2 separate regions of the Homo sapiens genome follow, and region 1 is linked to region 2. Evidence: promoter capture Hi-C in human tissues and cell types (Jung and others, 2019). All regions are on one chromosome and are shown on one strand. The core of a region is centred on a gene start or on the middle of the fragment in contact, and the rest is flanking DNA. Distances in the headings are between cores, read along the strand shown.

What was found. The method cuts DNA at HindIII sites, captures the fragments that hold promoters and counts their contacts. A contact is called where the count stands out against the background at its distance.
Region 1: a contact is called between a fragment that was not itself captured here and the fragment with the promoter of ULBP3 in region 2, in 1 of the 25 tissues and cell types used here (neural progenitor cells).

What each region holds. Positions count from the first base shown.
Region 1 is chr6:150,255,997-150,261,638 of GRCh38, reverse strand. No RefSeq gene overlaps it. Among named protein-coding and RNA genes, the nearest start is that of IYD, 110 kb to the left of the region's middle. The HindIII fragment of the contact is 3,375 bases long and covers 1,128-4,502 here.
Region 2 is chr6:150,067,816-150,073,548 of GRCh38, reverse strand. It overlaps ULBP3 (UL16 binding protein 3), which reads left to right and starts at 4,428. Exons shown (of 5, transcript NM_024518.3): 1 at 4,428-4,570. The coding sequence starts at 4,483. It overlaps LOC124901428 (a long non-coding RNA gene), which reads left to right and starts at 3,276. Exons shown (of 2, transcript XR_007059809.1): 1 at 3,276-3,791; 2 at 3,899-4,121. RefSeq lists enhancers at 2,539-3,406, 4,604-4,683, 4,704-4,753. The HindIII fragment of the contact is 17,553 bases long and covers 149-5,733 here.

The DNA of each region.
Region 1 (5,642 bases), core at 1,566-4,065, 190 kb before region 2:
TGGAGCCTAGGAGTTCGAGACCAGCCTGGGCAACATAGCCAGACCTAATCTCTAAAGAAACATTTTTTAAATTAGCCAGGTGTGGTAACACGTGCCTGTAGTCCCAGCTACTCAGGAGGCTGAGTGGGGAGAATTGCTTGAGCTCAGGAGTTTGAGGCTACAGCGAGCCATGATCATACCACTGCACTCTGGGCAAAAGACCAAGACCCTATCTCTAAAAAAAAAATTACTGAGTAATTTTTAGCTCTTAATTGCAGGAAGCTGGAGTCTTTTAGGGATAATATGTGGATTGCTGGAAAGAAGCTCCACATTTTCTGGTGTCTTTTTAAATGATTATGCATAAAGTGATGAAGTTTTTTAAAATCAACTGACTTTTGCTAATTGATTTGGAGGAAGGGTCAACAGGGGGGAAGCATCCTCTATCTCTTCTGCAAGACCTCCTCTTATATTATAGGAGGGAACATCACTTCCATAAGGTCTGGAGGACCGGGAAATGCCAGTCAGCATCTTTATTAAATACCATGGACAGGTGGAGGCAGATTCAGGGGAAAGGTAGAATATCCAGGGGTGGTGAGAAGCAGGCGGTGGTGATTTAAGAGAGAAAGCAGACTCTGCACCTAGTAGCAATCTCAACAACAAAGACACATCAAGAAAGGAAAAAAATATGCACCCTGAGACAGCATGGGAAGAAACAGTAGAGCAGGTGCTTCCAGACAAAATGAGCAGATTATAGCTAACAAAGAATGGTGAGACCTGCAAATAAAGCCTCAGGGCCAGGAGCAAGAATTCTGCTAATTGGAATACAGAATTTAAGAGGTGAACACAGCACACAGCCCCAAAGGGACTGACTACAGGTTTAATTAAAGATGATCTTCCATAACCTTGTCCTTGATTTAACAAACAGTGTCTCTGAGAAATGCTTGAAAAAAAAAAACATGTGTGCCTCCGTAGGTGGGTTTCTTGTCCTCTGAATCTTAGATATGGTGGGCCATTTTCCCACCTATAATTTGGCCCTCTGGGATGGCTATTGGATTTAGGATTCTTGCTCAACTACCACTCCCACTCCCTGGCCAAATATGACCCCAAGAGGGAGAAACAATAAAAACACATTTCAATATCAAAAAGTAGAAAGTGTAACACAGAGACGACAAAGATACTTTAAAATTTTTTATTTTTCCAGATCCTTCAAACTCTTGACTATGGAATGTGAGAGCTTGAGAATTCTGGGGTACAGACACTTGTCCTAGGGGACAGATGCTCTATTCCTGCTTCTAGAGACATCTAATCATGGCGTCACAGACTTAAGGTGTGCCGTCAGCTTCACTGAACTTCTGCTGGTTTCACACTCATGGTTTATCAGATCAGATGAATGATAGAAACAGCCCCAGAAGGACGAACAGGAGAAAAAGGAAGAAGGTCCTTAGTGGTCATTACTTTTCAAACTGGATATGAGCAAGAAAAGTATTCTAAGTAACTGCATGCAGGATCTTCCTAATTAGGTAAGAGTAGTAAGGTGCTTTATGTATCTATGCACTTATATACACATGAACTCTAATCTTGCTGTTGTTTACATTTTACAGACGAAGAAAACAAGGGGCAGATACCTAAGTCAGCACTGGGAACCACATAGAAAGTAAAAGCAGAGCTGGAGCTAGATTCAGATTTTTTTTTTTTAAAGATAGAGTCTTACTCTGTTGCCCAGGCTGGAGGGCAATGGCATGATCTCAGCTCACTGCAACTTCCACCTTCTGAGCTCAAGTGATTCTCCTGACTTAGCCTCCCCAGTAGCTGGAACTGCAGCTGTGTGCCATGGTACCTGGCTAATTTTTGTATTTTTGGTAGAGATGGGGTTTCACCATGTTGCCCAGGCTGGTCTCAAACTCCTGACCTCAGGTGATCCACCTAACTCAGCCTCCCAAAGTGCTGGGATTACAGGTGTGAGCTACCTCATCCAGCCCTAGATTCAGATTTCAAGATCACTGCTCTTGACTGACTGACTGATCGACGGATTCATTGATTGGCACCACATCTTTGTAGCTACTTAAGTTTCCAGACTAATGAACATGACCTTTCCCCTGTATGTGTTCACACTGTGCCAAACCTTTTCACATTAATTGCTCATTTGAGCCCTTCTACTCTGTGGAATTGTCAGGGTAAGTGTTCTTAAGTTTATAGATAAAGAGAATCCCAAGAAGGCCAGACAGATTAAATCACTTGCTCAGACACCAGGCTGGGCTATAATAGGCCCAAGTATTCTTTTCACTCTGTCAGTCTCCCGTAGTCCACTAGAGCCCCACAGAAAATCACAATGAAGACCATACCCTACTCCCCTGCCCCTAACCCCCTTGCAATGTGTTCTGGGCAAGACCCTTCCCTGCAATATATTTGCATGGTTTGATTAATGTGTTCTGTGGAGGAAATATTCAGATCAGTGTACCTGAACCACAGACTGCTTAATCTAGCACCTAATTTAGGGCTTACCTTAATACATATATGATATATGGTTTGGCTGTGTCCCCACCTAAATCTCATCTTGAATTCCCACGTGTTGTGGGAGGGACCTGGTGGGAGGTAACTGAATCATAGAAGCAGGTCTTTACTGTGCTGTTATCGTGATAGTGAATAAGTCCCATGTGCTCTGATGGTTCTATAAGGGGGAGTTTCCCTGCACAAGCTCTCTCTTTGCCTGCTGACATCCACATAAGATGTGACTTGCTCTTCCTTCCCTTCTGCCACGATTGTGAGGCTTCTCCAGCCATGTGGAACTGTAAGTCCATTAAACCCTTTTTCTGTATAAATTACCTGGTCTCAGGTATGTCTTTCTCAGCAGCATGAAAACAGACTAATACAATATACAAGATAAAATAAGAGGCAAAAGACATGATCACCCATGCCTCCCTATCCCAGGTAACAGTCTAACTTGGAGTCTAAGTTCCATGTATAAGCACTAGCTATACACAGTTTAGCAGAATTGGCTTTGTAATCAGATCACTGGCCTTGAAATAGAAGCTTTATCATCTACTGAATGTATGACCTTACAGTACTTACTCTCTCCAAGCCTCAGTTTCCTTATCTATATAATGGGAAAGACAATCCCCTCCTGAGGCAAGTGTAACTATGAAGATTCTGTGGACAATAAACTCAAGTGCACGGTACGTGGCACGGTAAGCGCTCAATAAAAGGTAGCTGATGGCCCCATTACTTGCGGTTTGAGCTTGCAGATTCTTTTCTTTTCCTTTCTCTTTCTTTTCTTCTTCTTCTTTTTTTTTTTTTTTTTTTTTTTTTTGACAGGCTCTCACTCTCTCACGCAGGCTGGAGTGCAGTGGCGCGATCACAGCTCACTGCAGCCTCAACCGCCGGGCTGAGTGATCCTCCTAGCACAGCCTCCCAGGTAGCTGGGATTATAGACACACACCACCATGCTGCTTAATATTTCATATTTTTTTTGTAGAGAAGAGGTCTTGCCATGTTGCCCAGGCTGGTCTCAAATTCCTGAGCTCAAGCAATCTGCCCACCTCGGCCTCCCAAAGTGTGGGACTATAGGCGTAAACCACTGCCCCCGGCTGGGAAGAGATTCTTGATTAAACCTGTGTGTAGTCATGTGAGCTGGACAGGCTGAATGGGTGCTGCATGGGGTCATCCAAAATTAATAGTAAGAGGGAGACTCCAGCTCTTCCTGGGCCTGTTCTTGCCACAACTGCTTTGGACCATTCTGCAGAGAAAAACTAAACCCGGCCCTTTTGTCAATATATTACAGAGGGAAGCCAATTCCACCCCGGCCCCTCATTCTTCAACATATTTTTATGGGTGTATTTACCACTCCACACTGTCAAGGGCCACCCTAATCCTTCCTGCTGGGGCTAGATAGTATTTTTGTCCAATTTTTTCACATTCCCCAGAGCCACCCTTGTAGATCAAGAGATTGGGTTCCCAGAGGCTGCACCTCAAGCCCTGTGGCTACTAAAACCTCATCCTGTGGGGGCCTGCTGACTTCATCACTTCTAATAACCTGAGCTCATTTCCTCAATGAGGAAAATCACTGGCACTACAGCTTGGCCTTGGGACCACAATTTAAGAAGAGTCGGGGCCAGCACTTTGGGAGGCCAAGGCAGGCAGGATTGCCTGAGTCCAAGAGTGAGACCAGTCTGGGCAACATGGTGAAACCCTGTCTCTACAAAAAATAGAAAAATTAGCCAGCATAGTGGTGCACGCCTGTAGTCCCAGCTACTCAGGAGGCTGAGGTGGGAGGATTGCCTGAACCTGGGAGGCAGAGGTTGCAGTGAGCCATGATTGCACATTTGCACTCCAGCCTGGGTGACAGAATGAGACTCCATCTCAAGAAAATAAAATAAAATAAAATAAAAGTCGGGAGAAAGATGGGGCTGCCACAGCATTATTACAAAAACCTGGAATGCGGCATCGTGGGCAAGCTTCATCCATCTCCTTGAGGAGACTCCTCTCTGACAGCTACAGGTAATTTGAAAGCTTTTATGAAGCCTTGGCTGGAAAACCAATGAAGCTTCCAAACTCAGGCAATGCAACAGAAGCGTCTAAACAGTTAGTCATAAAACATTCTTTCCTAATCCACAGAAGACATTAACATTTATTTTTCCAATTACCAATGAATAATCCTCAAGGGCTTTTCCCTAAAACTGACAACACAAAAATAATTACTCTCTTAGTAATGAAGTGGGTATCCAAGGGAGATGGTTGGGTTGATGAATGATGATCATTTTAAAGCTCCTTCATTTCTGCATGGTTTTTGCCGGATTAATCGTCATTGAAGGAACACTGAGTTTATTTGTTGTTGGCAACAAAATGGGAAATTCAGCTCTTGAAGGGTTTCTGCCTTCAGGCTCTGGCCTCATTAGAAACATGGCTTTCTCTGTTTCATCATATGGTTGAGTCATTCTTCATCTCAGGTGGTGAAAGGGTGAGCGGTACTTAAGCAACAGCAGTTTCTGTTCCTAAGGTTAAATGTGCAACCTACTTTCTCTGTACAATATCCCTAAGAAGTATCGTTAGTGTTTCTTCCAAATAAAAAGCGTAAGTTAAGGAGCAGTATCTTGGATCAAATGACTCTCATGATAAGACACGAGGAAAAAGAGCAACTGCCTTCCTTCTAAAAGTTATATTTTAAAGATTTTACATTTCCAGCCCAAATAAAATGCAATAGCTTTGTTTCCTTGCACAGCTATGACACAATAAAGAATGCACAAAGTGTTTTGTTAAGGAACAGGGCATCATTCTTACTCTTCCCGCCTTCATTTCTTCCTGGAGATAAGACGACAAAATATGGACTTTCCTCCCATCCATTGCTCTGTATTGCATGGCAGTATTCACATGTCTGTCTTAATTTGTTTGTCTGATAGCCTAAACAAGATGATGGAAGCATAAGGGAGTGGGTTAGGGCATTGGCAATTGAAGTTGACGTGATGCTGAACGGGTTGGAGGCAAAGTTACACCAAGGGCTTGTAAGCATGAGAACCCACAGGCGAAGCAACCCAACATGGAGTGCAGGGAGGAAGAAGAGAGCTGGAACCCACCTCCTGAACAAGCCAGTGTGTGCCTGTGAGCGGGTGGGGATGGGCCCGTGCAAGGCTCGCTGCCAGGCAGGCTGTTACTTGCTGCTGGGGCGGTGT
Region 2 (5,733 bases), core at 3,179-5,678:
ACCAGCCTGGGCAATATAGGCAGACCCCATCTCTACAGACAAATATAGAAAATTAGCCCAGTGGGTGGCGCATGCTTGTAGTCCTGGCTACTCGGAGGCTGAGGCAGTAAGATGGCCTGAGCCCAGGAGTTAGAGGCTGCAGTGAGCTATGACCACGCGGCTGCACTCCAACCTGGGCAACAGAGGAAGACCCCATATCTTAAAAAAAATAAATAGATAGGCTGGGCACGGTGGCTCATGCCTGTAATCCCAGCACTATGGGAGGCAGAGGTGGGTGGATCACAAGGTCAGGAGATTGAGACCATCCTGGCTAACAAGGTGAAACCTCGTCTCTACTAAAAATACAAAAAAAAAAAAAAAAAAAAAAAAAAAAACTAGCTGGGCGTGGTGGCGGGCGCCTATAGTCCCAGTTACTCGGGAGGCTGAAGCAGGAGAACGGTATGAACCCAGGAGGAGGAGCTTGCATCAAGCCGAGACCGTGCCACTGCACTACAGCCTGGGCGACAGAGAAAAAATAAATAAATAAAAATAAATAAATAATAAATAAAAAAGATGGCAGAGCTAAATCCTAAACAGTAGTAATTACAATAAAAGTGAACTACTAAACTTATCACATAAATCACTGAAACTCCCAGGTTGGATTTTAAAATATCAAATAATATACACTATTTTCAAAAGACAATGTTAAATGTAAAGATTAAAAATAAAACGTGCTGTATCTGCGAAGAAAGGCTACTTTTTAATTTTTTTTGTATTTGTTTCTTTTAGCGACTACAATATGCTTTATTGTTCTTAGAAAGGACTCAGGGTTTGGCTTTAAATCAGGCTGCACGCTTTTCATCAGTCTCGCATCGCTCTCCCCATGCCAAGCTGGCTCTAGCTAGCAATGTCGCATTAAATCCCAGGGCAACCTTCAGGAACTTCCAGAAGCCTCCCCTCTCCTGACCCCCTGCAGTCCAAGACCCCCATATTTGCCCACACCCCTGCTTAGGGTCCAGCCCTAGAACTCACTGCCCCGCCCCAACCTGCCCTGGACCAGCCTGGCAGCAGGAGCAGAGGCTGGAGGCAAACACCCAACTTCGCGCCAGCACCTGTGCCACTGGGGACCAGGAGCCCAGGGTGTGACACACCCAGAGGAAGCAGAGAGCCGCTGCGTGAGTCACCCTGGCCCTCAAGGCTGTCACAGCTCCAGTAGCCCTGCCCCGCCCACTTGCAACTCCAGGCCATGGGGCAGGAAATGCTTGAATCCTTGCTACCTCTCAGACCCCAACCCTTCTTTTCTCCTCTTTCCTCCTGGCCCGGTTATCTTTTCCCATTTCCATTCCCACTTTCAGACTCGTTCTTTCTTTGCTTAAAAGGCAAGTATTTCAGCCATGCGCGGTGGCTCACGCCTGTAATACCAGCACTTTGGGAGGCCAAGGCGGGCGGATCATGAGATCAGGAGTTCGAGACCAGCCTAGCCAACATAGTGAAACCCCATCTCGACTAAAAATACAAAAAACTAGCCGGGCATGGTGGGGATGCCTGTAATCCTAGCCACTCAGGAGGCTGAGGCAGGAAAATCGCTTGAACCCGGGAGGCGGAGGTTGCAGCGAGCCTAGATCACACCACTGCACACCAGCCCGGGCGATAGTATGAGACAACGTCTCAAAAAAAAAAAAAGGCAAGAAAAAGACAAGATTTTCCTGGCCCTGGTGCACTCTAGGCTCAGTCAAACCAACTGAAGACAGCAGTTTGCTGTCCGTCATCACACTATGTTTTCTAGAAGATTCTATCCTGATGAAGCACCCCCCAGACTGGTTGAAAACCAAAGTTACTCTTCCTTGGAAAATCTTTGTGGACACCCAGGTGGAGATTCAAATTTCCAAGTTGGGGCCAGGCGAAGTGGCTCACGCCTGTAATCCCAACACTTTGGGAGGCCGAGGCAGGCAGATCACCTGAGGCCGGGAGTTCGAGATCAGCCTGGCCAACACGGTGAGACCCTGTCTCTATTAAAATTGCAAAAATTAGCCGGGGGTGGTGGCAGGTGCCTCTAATCCCAGCTACTCGGGAGGCTGAGGGAAGAGAATCGCTTGAACCCGGGTGGCAGAGATTGTAGTGAGCTGAGATCGTCCCATTGCACTCCAGTCTGGGCGACAGAGTGAGACTGTCTCAAAAACAAACAAACCGGAAAACAACAAATAAAACCCAACAACTAAAAAAGGCAAAAAAAAAAAAAAATTACCAACCTCGATGCTGCCACCTTCAGGCCGCTGGGGGTTACAACCTCCGCTCCAGCTCCCCTCTGAACCTGTGCTATTCTTCTGAGTCCCATTCACTCCCACAACTGTCTCATTCATTCACTGGTTCACTCAGCTTCCAACCACCCTTACATCACGTCAGGCTCACCAGGTGATGGAGAGAAAAATCATCCTCTGTGGGTCTGAAAAACATGCCTGAGTCTTGATGGTGGGTCTTGTTTTCATTTCCTCCCCATCACAGCGCCCCCAGGGCCATGAAGAGGCCATGGCCTGGGCTCAGAGATCCAGCTCTCCTCAGGGTGGGCCTGGCAGTTGCTGACTTCAGGGAGAGCTGGAGGCCTCACAACTGAAATAGGAGACCTGCCCTGGGTCCTTAGCATGTGCAAGGACAGGGTTCCTTGTAGAATCTGCTCATTTCATCTGTGTTCATAGCATTTGTCATTTTCCACATGCAGACATCCATTCCTAGAAAGCTGAAGAAGCTTGCACAGGAATATTCAGCCACAATATCAGCTGACTTCCATATCTGAATGCATGATCTCTAGATCCCGGCCATTACAATAACATTTGGGCCACTTCTATCCCCATCCTGGGCAGGCCTGAGTCTGTTGGCCAGATGCCTGCAGCAGGGGTGAGTCAGGAGGGCCCAGGTGTGCACAAAAGCCCCTCCTCCTGTCCTGCTTGGGGCTCTCCTGCCAGCCTCCTTCTACCTTCCTCCTGTTCCCCCAGTCACTGGCCCAGGTCACCTGGCCTCGGGGTGGTGCTGCCAGGGCCTTCCCAGAGGCCTCCTCCCAGGACTAACCTGGGCTCCTGCCCCCAGCCCTGTACATGGGAGGCTCTTCTCACACACAGATCCTGGGACCCGCCAAGCTCTGCCCCTCCCAAATCTGAGAACTGCCCACCCTTGTGTGTCTGTTGTCCTCCAAACTACCCTCCACATGGCCCCTCCTGCACAGGGGCTCTAGTGCATCAGGCCAGAATCTTCTAGGCTCCTGTGTCCCTGCTCAGTCACAGAGGTGGCTGCCCTCCCATGACTCTGTCCTGAAGCAGAAACAGGCCCTGGGCTTTGTCCAGGCCTCCTCCTCTTTCCCACAGCCTCAGGACCCTCGGGATTGATGATCACCAGGTGCAGGTGATCCCAACATGAAGACTGTACGGAGTGGGAGGTCTGTGCCGATTTTTCTCATTCAATAGGGAATGGGCTGAGTGGCTGGGGCCTGAGTGGCACTCAAGATCTCTGTCCACTCCTCATCCCAGGCTAAAGCCCTCCCTTGCGGCCAAGGGCCACTGGGCCCATCACCTCCCTCTGGCTTCTGCCCACAGATCTAGATGTTTCCATGGTGACTGAGACGAGGATACACTCGGGTTGCCGCTTTGAGGATGGCTGCAGTCACCATCCAGGGACAGGGCAGAGATGCGCGTGCAGCCATGGATTTGCGTGTAGCTGGCCACAGATGGGTGTACAGCAAAGTGAGCCCCACGCATGCGTAGACCCTCCCTCGGCTTCTGCTCTCCATGGAAACACAATTGATCATTTGATCACTGATCACGGTAGGCCACTAGGGCTTTCTTTTCTTTCTTTTTTTTCCCAGAAGTCATAAAGGGATATAGAATATACTTTATTCTATATATATTCTATATATTCCTCATGCTTTTAGTGGAGAGGCAAAGAAGGTCTGCTCCGGACTGGGAAGCAGCTGCGCCCTGGACGGAGAGGGGCGGGGACTCCTTGGCGCAGGCTGAAGGAGGGCAGGTGTCGCTGGCGGAGGCAGTGACGGGGGGACACAGCCGCCACTGGATATCCCTGTGCAAGTTTCTTCGCTTTCCTGTGCATCAGTGCTTACATTGGGGTAATAATAAATGGTGTGTTAAAAAATTAAATGAGGCGGTCAAGAAGGAATCGTGTCCTGGCCCGCGCGGAGCCTGGGGTGGAGGGTAAGGGTTGGCCAGAGGGGGCCGCTGTCAGGCCACGAGCCCGGGGCGGGACGAAGCGGAGCCACAGCAGGCATAGGCTCCCCGGGTCCCAGCCTGGGGTGGGGCGGGGAAGGGCGGGACGGGGCGGGATAGGGCGGAGCATCCCTCCAAACGTGGGCAGGCGTAGGCTCCCCTGGATCCCGGGGCGGGACGGGACCGGACGGGGCCGAGCACACTCAATCACTAGCTGGCATGCGAGGGCCGAAGTGATTCATACGCTGGTCTCCACATCGACTGCGCCTTGTGTCCCGGGCGCTCCTGGTCTACAATGGCAGCGGCCGCCAGCCCCGCGATCCTTCCGCGCCTCGCGATTCTTCCGTACCTGCTATTCGACTGGTCCGGGACGGGGCGGGCCGGTGAGTTCGGGGATGGAGCCTAAGCGGGGCGGGGGCCAAACCTGGGGGGCTGTGGACTGCAGCGGGTTTCAGAGGAGGGAAGCCTTCTAGAAGGACCGGCGCGATCTCCCCGGACTGCCCCCACGCTCAGTTCCGATTCGCTGCTCTTTTTCGCCAGGTCCGCTTCCTGCGGCTGCTGCTTGCCCTGCAGAGCAGGAGGGGGGTCAAAGAAGGCGAAAAAAGAACCGCAGGAGGGTGGAGGGGCCAAAAAGCTGCAGAGGGCGAGGTGGGGAGGGGATCCCTGGTGCAACCCCGCAGCCCCACTCGTCCTCGGGAAGGAGAAACCAGAGCCCCCGGAACCCGAGCTGGGGTCAAGACATGGGTGACGCCAGCGTCATATAGAATAGTCACTAAGCAGACAGGAGTCAGCAAACCCTTTCTAGAAAGGAAAGGCTGAAGGCACTTTGGTCCTTGCTGGCCGTGAGTTCTCTGTCTCTGTGTCAAGTCCCGTCCCTTTGTAGAGCAACAGCAGGCAATGGCAACCTGCAAGTAAAAGAGAAACCTGAAATGGACCCTGTCCTAGGTTGCAGACTCCAGATGAGGGCACATGCTGTGTCCTGGCAATTGCTGCCCCATCCCCTAGGGTGTCATCTCTAAGTTGTGTAAGTTGAAGAGTCACAAGTGTGTCCTACCCTGCCTGTGGCTTCTGGGAGGTGTGGATGTGATGAATGTGAGGGGGAGTCCCATGGTTCGGGGCCTACTGCTCCCCTCCTTTGTTGCTGAGTAGCATTAACGGTCCCCAGGGGCCATTCAGGGACCCTCCCTGAAGCCTCAGGTGTGACCTGAGGGTGGGGGGGTGTAGCCATGTGGTGTCCTGGGGATCAGAGCCAACTGCTTGTGCAGCTTCTTGGTTCCCTGTGGCCCTGCTCCTGCCCATCCCAGGAGACCCACCTGTGTCTTCTCACTGTGGGGCCTATCTTCCTAATGACCTAAAGGGTGAGGAGCACACCCTGTGATGGGCAGCTCTGAGGCTGTGTGGTCACTGCCCTCCCATAGCTGGAGGCCCATCTCCACAGGGGCCCAGGACCACAGCAGGAGCCACTTTTAAATGAGGGGATTTCACTGCTGTGAGTGGCACAGCTTTGCTTCTGAGCACTAGGGGACCCTGTTGGATTCTGTGGTTG